Regions from separate parts of the Homo sapiens genome. Here all the other regions are linked to region 3. Evidence: promoter capture Hi-C in 16 types of primary human blood cells and fetal thymus (Javierre and others, 2016). All regions are on one chromosome and are shown on one strand. The core of a region is centred on a gene start or on the middle of the fragment in contact, and the rest is flanking DNA. Distances in the headings are between cores, read along the strand shown. Region 1 overlaps ZNF407 (zinc finger protein 407). Region 2 overlaps ZNF407 (zinc finger protein 407). Region 3 holds the start of SMIM21 (small integral membrane protein 21).

Region 1 (2,700 bases), core at 130-2,629, 780 kb before region 3:
TTTTGGTTTGCTATTTCCACTCAATTTTAAAAAGTCCTATTTACTGCTGAGGTACTATAAGAATATATTGAGCTGGGCTCAAGGGATGGTTGTTTTTGAAGGACCAATAAAGTGTTAATTTGCATCATAATTACGCTGTCACCATTACATGTGTTAATGGGGTACTGGAAAATTCTTATAAAATCTGGCTAAATGTAAGATGGTCTCTAGTCTATTTTAGAAGTGCTGCTGTAAGTGAAATAGGTGAAAGTGGTCTTATGTCAACACATCTGGTAATTATCATTATAATATTAGAAAATAAGTATGATTTTTTACATTGTGGCTAGGGACATTGATAGTCAAATGCTTCACAACATAAATTTGTGCTAGTCTGAAAAATTGGAATGTGTTTAAATATTAAAGACATTTTAGTATTCACCACTAAAATTTATTTTAAAAATAGGGTTTTAGAACTTACACTGTTGCCTGGTCCAATCCATCTAGTGGACAGGTAAAGAAATTTGGGTCAAGAGCTTAAGTGACTTTTCACAAATGGAGACAAGAACCCAGGACTTGTGACTCTCGGGTCAGGGCTGTTTCTATTTTATCCCACTGGCATTCTAATTAGCTTTAATGTAGCTCTTAAACTTTTCAGTCTCACTATTTTTAGCTACCATTCTTTTTAACAAGGGAAATAATGGACACAGGTTTAAGCAGCAAAGTTAATTAATTGATCAACATTCGTCCATTCATTTTCAAACATTTTCTGAGTGCCAAACGTGGGAACTCTAGTTTCAGTAACCAACAGTGGTGAATCTATTATAATTCCTTTTGAGTTTAGATGGTCACTTCTATCAAAGGATAGAATTAACTATTAAGTGATGAAGATACACAAGCAATTTGGGTATTCATTGTGAGGCAACTGTTTTCTCTTTTCCTTAAGATGATAGAACATGGGCAATGTGAATTATATCTAAAATCAGCTGGATTGTCAAAAATAGCATTTCACTTTATTTTGTATTAGGAACAAATAATCGAAAATGTCTTTGTCATAGTCTGTTTGACTAGTGCCCATTGGCAGAATAATTTTATTTCCCCTGCCACCCCTCCCTGCTGTCTCTTAGTTCTTAGCTGAAAAGTTCCTTTTCAGCTAGTATCTGATGGACTATATGGTCTCTGTGCATGGTATCGTTTACAATTGTTGGTGCTTACTTAGTCTGCATCATGTAGCACTCCTGCCTAGTCACTTTAAGGGATGCAAAGACTGACAATTTCTTTGTTTTGAATTGCTGCAGTACTTCAAAAGAAGCCCCATTGAGATTTAGAGACTTGTAAACATTGAGAGAAACGGAGCACCTTTCTGCATCCACAGACAAGTTAGGTTGATGACTGCTGTGTTGGTGTAGTTCAGCAGACATCCTGTTAGTCACTCTTTCTAGGTAGTTTGGTTGACAGGGGTCTGCACTTGGTCATACACTTTAGGGTGGGCTCATGTATGAAACAGGCAAACTCACAGACTTTGCAGGTTCTCTTTGTGAGAGAGACAGAGAACACTTACATAGGGCCTAGGTGGCATTTTTGAAGTATTCATGGAAGGGGTGGGCCACGGGAATATTGTTTGTTACCCCAAAGAACACATTATCTTAAGGTGTAGAAAAAAATTTACTGGCTTTATAGTAATGTCATAACAGTTTCACTGTAATTAAATATTTTTGCACTAATGATTATACTGTGATAGAGAGCATAATAAATTATTGAGAACTACATTTCCATTTCTGTAGTGGAGGGGGCAAGAAATTGCTATATATGTGTGTGTGTGTCTATCTATCTATCTATCTATATATAAATATAATATTTCCCCCCTTAGCTTGGTGGGACTGTAGCTCAAGGGTAAAGATAGAAATTTTGGTGTTTATGTTACAAAATTATTCTTAAACAACCCATTTAAGTCTTTCTGGGTTGTTTTAGTCTTGATGTGTTAGAGAGTGATAATTTTATGCAAGTTATGATTAAAACCCTGTTACTGTCATCCTTAAAGAGCACATTAAAAATACCCTGTTTGGAAAATGACAGTTTTAAAAATAGACAAAATTATATGTTAGTTATGAAGAGCGATGGAATTTATTGAGCCGAAATGTTTTGAAGGAGATTTAAGAATCTTGCACTTTGGGAAGAAGTTAATGACTGATTAACAACAGCAATTAAAAGATGAGGAAAAGGTATATAATTAAAATTGCAGTACTTGCTTTGTCAAGTACGAGTGTCATCTATTGTGTACTTGTTAAAAGCTGAAGAAAAAGAAACCAGCATTTAATTTCAGCCCGGTTTTGAAGAAGAGGCCGATAATTTGCCTGTAGATGCCTGCGTGAAGGTTGTAACTCATGTTTAAGCGAGACTGTGTCATTAGAAGTTCACAGCCATGTATTTTCTGTTGACAGTCATCGACAGAGAATATTTGGCAGTCAGAAGTAATTTAACTTAATTAATGGGATGCATATTTGATGGAGGAATAAAATATTCAGGCTCAGCAAAGTGGAAAAAAGGAAAGATTTAGTGGGAGTAAAAGGTTGAAGAATGTAATTTGTGCATTCATTCTGCTGCTCAGAATTATGAATTGTCTTGCAGAGATATAAAGCCGAGGTGATCCTTAGATGGAAATGTGCTGTCCCTCAACAAAGAGAGCAATCAAGATGACAGTTCATGATTTAATTGATGCCAGAG
Region 2 (2,700 bases), core at 156-2,655, 750 kb before region 3:
TTTAACTAGTTTTGTTTATTTCTGGAAAATCTAAGGCTTTTGTTTTTAACCCTTCCATGGTTGCTACCTTCACTCCCTCACCACTTAATGTGTCCTTTCTCAGGCCTTTGCCTGCCACTCCGCTGAAACCAGTGCTGTGCTGGAGCTGGAGCATATGGCTGTGGTGGCTCGTGAGAACCACTTGTTAGAGATCCAGGACTTTATAGCTTGAAATTGGGAGTGCTGACATCATGAAAGTTGTCAAAGTTTGCAGATCAGGTCCCTACCTCTGTCATCCTGTAGCTGGTTTACAGCCCACTGTTCTCTGAAAATATATTAACACATTACCAAATATCTTCATCTTACCAAATTCTCTGTTATCAAGTGGTCAATGATCAATACCTTTGCCCACTTTGTCCTTAAAATACTTTTTTCATGGCTTCTCTGACACCATAGTATCCTGGTATTATTTTGGTTTTGTTTATTATATCTCTCTTTGTAGTCTTATTTTCTGCTTCTTCACTACCTCTACCACTATCTCTACCTAACTTGTAAATGTTGAACTACCCCAGGGCTTGGCTCTGGGATCCATCCCTTGTCTGCTTACACCAGGGATTAGTAAACTTTTCTGACAAAGGCCAGATAGCTCTATTCCTCTAGTGAAACAGCAATAGGCAATGTGTAAATGAGTTAGTGTGGCTATGTTTCTGCTTACGAAGATGGGTGGCTGACAGGATTTGGCTGAATGTTGTAGTTAGGTAATTTCTGATCCATACCCCCTCGCTGGGTAGTGTCCATTAATAACATGGCTTTAAAAAGTGTCTCTGTGACTAATCACCAAATGTATATCTCTAGTCTTGAGTTTTTTTCTTTGGGCACCAGACTTGTGCATTTTATTGCTTATTTGAAATGTTGGTTTGTGTTTTCTGAAGATGTCTCAAACTTAATATGGTCCAAATAGAATCCCTTATTTGTGTCCCAAAACTTTTCTTGCATTTCCTGTCACTCTCTACTCACTAACTGCTCACTACTCTGTTGGCCTTATCTGTCCCTTGAAGTTGCCAAGCATGTTTCTGCCTGAGGGGCCTTTATACTTATGCTTTCTCTGTCTCTGCTGGCTCTTTGTTAACATTTGGGTGTAGGTTCAGTTGCCTTTTCTTGACCAGCCACTCATCACTTAACCTCTTATGTTTCTTCATAGATCACTTACCGAAAAAGTACTTTGTATATTTATTTCCTTCTTTATTGTCAGTCTCTCCCACTTGAGTGTAAGTTCCTTAAGAGTAAGAACTTTGTGCATTTTCCTTTCTTTAGCCTCTTAAGCAGTATCCTCCCTCATAGTAAGCTTCACTTACTGTTTGTGGCGAATGAATAAATGAATGTATTTTTTATGTGTTCCAGATATTGGGAAGAACACACAGAGACAGGCATCTAAAATAAGTAGTAGAGTCAAACAAAGAAAAGTAATATAAAGCAGAGTATTGTAAGAGGACGTGTAAAAAGGAGAGAAAGCTTTCTGTCTTTTCTGTGCTGTCTTTCCTTTTTTGCCTTTTATTGCATAGCTTTTCTGATTTTAGTTCCTGTTACGCTGTTAGCTTTGAAGTTATATACCCTTTTTGGTTTTAATGGTTACCCTAGCAATTACACCATTATCCTTGACTTATCCATGTTTAATATTAAGTGGTACTTTTACCCTCTTTCCGACAATTCGAGGATCTTGAACACTTGAATCCCACTCATTTCCCTCCCAGTGACTACACCATTGTTATCAAGCATTTAACTCTGTAGACCTTTCAAACCTATAGACGTTTAAAGCCTTCATTGTTGTTGTTTTCCTATTAGAATTTTTATTTTATATATAAAAAAAGTTGTTTTACACATCATTTAGGTAGTTTAAAAATATATTATGCTTCTGCATGTATAAAAAGAAAATAAAACAAGTCTACATTCAAGTTCTACTACTTCTGAATCACTTTTCAACTTACATTTTTTTGATGCCTGTGCTTCCTCTTAGAATTTTTTTTTTTTGGAGATGGAATCTTGCTCTGTCACCCAGGCTGGAGTACAGTGGCACGATCTCGGCTCACTGCAAACTCCACCTCCTGGGTTCAAACGATTCCTCAGCCTCAGCCTCCTGAGTAGCTGGGATTACAGATGCATGCTGCCACGCCCGGCTAATTTTTTGTGTTTTAGTAGAGACAGGGTTTCACTGTGTTGCCCAGGCTGGTCTCAAACTCCTGAGCTCAGGCAATCCGCCTGCCTTCTCCTTCCAAAGTGCTAGGATTATAGGCATGAGCCACTGTGTCCCGGCCTAGAATATTGTTTTCTTTGCCACCAAGAGAATGGGTGATATAGCATTTTTTTTTTTTTTTTTGAGACGGAGTCTCGCTCTGTCACCCAGGCTGGAGTGCAGTGGCGGGATCTCGGCTCACTGCAAGCTCCGCCTCCCGGGTTCACGCCATTCTCCTGCCTCAACCTCCCGAGTAGCTGGGACTACAGGCGCCCACCACCGTGCCCGGGTAATTTTGTATTTTTAGTAGAGACGGGGTTTCACCGTGTTAGCCAGGATGGTCTCGATCTCCTGACCTCGTGATCTGCCCGCCTTGGCCTCCCAGAATGCTGGGATTACAGACGTGAGCCACTGTGCCCGGCCAGTATTTTTTAAAAATAATGATTCACTATGTCTTTGGGGTATTTTTCCAAGCCACTGACACTCTTGTG
Region 3 (2,700 bases), core at 111-2,610:
TCTGTCACCCAGCCTGGAGTGCAGTGGCACAATCTCGGCTCACTGCAAGCTCTGCCTCCCGGGTTCACACCATTCTCCTGCCTCAGCCTCCCAAGTAGCTGGGACTACAAGTGCCCGCCACCACGACTGGCTAATTTTTTGTATTTCTAGTAGAGATGGGGTTTCACTGTGTTAGCCAGGATAGTATCAATCTCCTGACCTTGTGATCTCCTCGCCTCGGCCTCCCAAAGTGCTGAGATTACAGGCATGAGCCACTGCACCCGGCCCTAGACCATTACTTTTAAAATGTAAAAAAAAAAAAAAAAAAAAAAAAAAAAAAAAAAAAAAAATGGAAAAAGGAAAAGGAAATAAAGAAGCAGCAGTGGGGATCAAGACAGAGGAAGGAGATGCTACCTGCCTGCTCCCATCCATCTCCTCTTCACAGTCAGAAACACTAAGAGGAACCCTGTGCTACAGGAGAAGACATTCCAGAAATTTTGTCTTAGGACTTTAACCTTTCCGATATATGACTGGGTCATAAACTTCCTTTTCAGAAGCTATTGATCACCCCATCACCTCTGCAAATGGGGTGTCTATAAATGCCATCTGTTGCCTGCACATTGGCTACTGGTTCATGAATGGTTAAATTTGTTGCAACTTTTGCTTCTGTCCTGTAATGAAGGAAAAGAAACTTTCTTCTAGGAGTGCAGTATCAAATTTGTCTGGGTAGGTTGAGTTTGTAGGTGTTGCAGGTGCACCTAGGCTTAAAGCATTTGGAGGTATCCTTGCATCTGTGTTAAGAGGCTCTCTCTGTAGGGGAGAGATCATTGACTCATTGGCCTGTATACTGATGTAATGTCAAGGGGAGGGCCCAGTACCTTTTCTGAAAGGGGCAGCTCTTCCTCAGATTGGGAATTGGAATTGGGAGGTTGTCTTGGCCAGAACTGAGAAAGAAAGAGCTCTGGATTGACGTCTCATCTTAAACTTCGTAGAATCTGGATTTGAGAGACAGAGCACTCACAGGAGATTGGGGCAAAAGAGTGCTTTGTAGGACCATACCTGTGCAGTGATACGTCTCTCTCATAACCCAAAGTTAAAGACCCATAAACTCACTGTGGTAAGTGCTTTCTTCTGCAGCAAATTCCCCTTGAATATCCGTCCCATTCCTGCAGAGTCTTGTTTAAATGTTCCCAGCTGTGCTATAGGGAATCGGGGAGGAGCTGTGGACACATACTGGTCCATGTGGGGGCTGCGGCGGTGACCAGTGAGAGGTCTCCTTGATGACAGCGACTCTGAGGACACAGAGCTGGTGCTATAAGACCTGGTAACTAAGTTCCCAAGGAGCTTTTCTCTTCTTTGCCAACCTTGAAGATCTGGGTATTATTTTATGAAGCTGGATGGAATCTTCCCACATGTAGAGTTCTCAGGTCCAGGTATTATTTTATGAAGTCGGATGGAATCTTCCCGCACATGGAGTTCTGAGGTTTCTCAGGTTGCTCTCTGGCTCAGTGATGCTGTGTGAGAATGTTCAACCATATCTCCACAGCACAAGCTTTGGATCTGATGTCAAGAAGCTTTTGTGAATATTAAAAATGAACCGCATCTCCCTGAATCAAAATAAATACTACTATATGCACTTCAATGGAAATAAAATCTGGGATTCTTTTTGGGCCCTAAGCAAAATGTAGAAATTCATTTTCCCATCAGACTTTTCAGTAACTTTCTTTTAACCTAATGAGACACTCCACAGGAGACTAACATTTCTTTCGCTGAATTCCAAGTGTAGGTTTCCTGGGTTGTCCATTTAATTGTTAAAGTGAGAGAGATTCTGCTGGAAGACAAGCACCATGGAACAGCAGGAGGAAAGCTGAATGGAGGTTACTTGGGAGCTACCCCAGGAAGAAGCGCTGTGCAGACCATCATCGCAGGGTGGAGAGTAGCCATGAGACGTGTGTGGTGGCCTCTGGATGCTGCTGTGCTGCCTCATGGGAATTTTCACAGATCTTCCACTGTTTGTAAATGGTGCCCAATGAGCGGAAAATTAAGTGGTACTTAACACACACACGTTCACCAAATACTTGCAGCGTTATCCCCATAGTGTGGATGGCTTTTGACAAGGTGCCTGATGAAGAGAGATGCACATAGTTGTGAGTCCCAGCCTACAGAAGCTCATGATGGGTGCTCCACAGTGTTGGTGTTGAGTAAAAATGCCCAGGACAGTATGCACTGTGCTTGACGCACAGTATGACTAAGAAAATACCTGTTATTATGTGAACAGTGACCATATGCACAGCATACAAATCAGTAGCCCAGTGCTGTTCTGATGGTCTTGTCCTGAGTGGTTTTTCCCATCTAGTTGGAGACAAGACTCATTCTCTAGAAAGAAGAGCAAAAAATGGTGGGTCCCACCAAGGCCATGGACAAGGGAAAGGCAGAAACGTGCAGAGGGAGCAGAGACAGAGGAGGCTTGAGACCTGTGTGGAGGGACAGGAAGGGAGCTCGGAAGCCCGTTTTGTAGCAGATCCCAAATTGTGAAAGTTGATAGTTGTGGAGCACACATATGCAGAGTAACATCTAGAATTCTCAGAGTTGGTGATTTAAAGAAAAGAGAAAAAAAAAACACTGACTAAAAATTAATCTTCAATTTCCCACAGGCCTTAAACTTCCAGCTGCTAAAAGACAGTGGGGTGTAGGGGGTGGAAAGAGACCTCATCTAGGAGG

What was found. The method cuts DNA at HindIII sites, captures the fragments that hold promoters and counts their contacts. A CHiCAGO score of 5 or more calls a contact.
Region 1: a contact is called between a fragment that was not itself captured here and the fragment with the promoter of SMIM21 in region 3, in 2 of 17 cell types (M0 macrophages and M1 macrophages). The highest score is 7.8, in M0 macrophages.
Region 2: a contact is called between a fragment that was not itself captured here and the fragment with the promoter of SMIM21 in region 3, in 2 of 17 cell types (non-activated CD4 T cells and naive CD8 T cells). The highest score is 5.7, in non-activated CD4 T cells.

What each region holds. Positions count from the first base shown.
Region 1 is chr18:74,649,138-74,651,837 of GRCh38, forward strand. All of the region lies in intron 3 of ZNF407 (zinc finger protein 407), which reads left to right. Among named protein-coding and RNA genes, the nearest start is that of ZNF407, 53 kb to the left of the region's middle. The HindIII fragment of the contact is 4,748 bases long and covers 1-2,700 here.
Region 2 is chr18:74,674,102-74,676,801 of GRCh38, forward strand. The region is part of intron 3 of ZNF407 (zinc finger protein 407); the gene reads left to right. Among named protein-coding and RNA genes, the nearest start is that of ZNF407, 78 kb to the left of the region's middle. The HindIII fragment of the contact is 167 bases long and covers 1,323-1,489 here.
Region 3 is chr18:75,426,343-75,429,042 of GRCh38, forward strand. It overlaps SMIM21 (small integral membrane protein 21), which reads right to left and starts at 1,361. Exons shown (of 3, transcript NM_001037331.3): 1 at 1,093-1,361. The coding sequence starts at 1,221. LOC105372200 (a long non-coding RNA gene) reads left to right here. Exons shown (of 4, transcript XR_935636.3): 4 at 1-319. The HindIII fragment of the contact is 2,673 bases long and covers 1-1,529 here.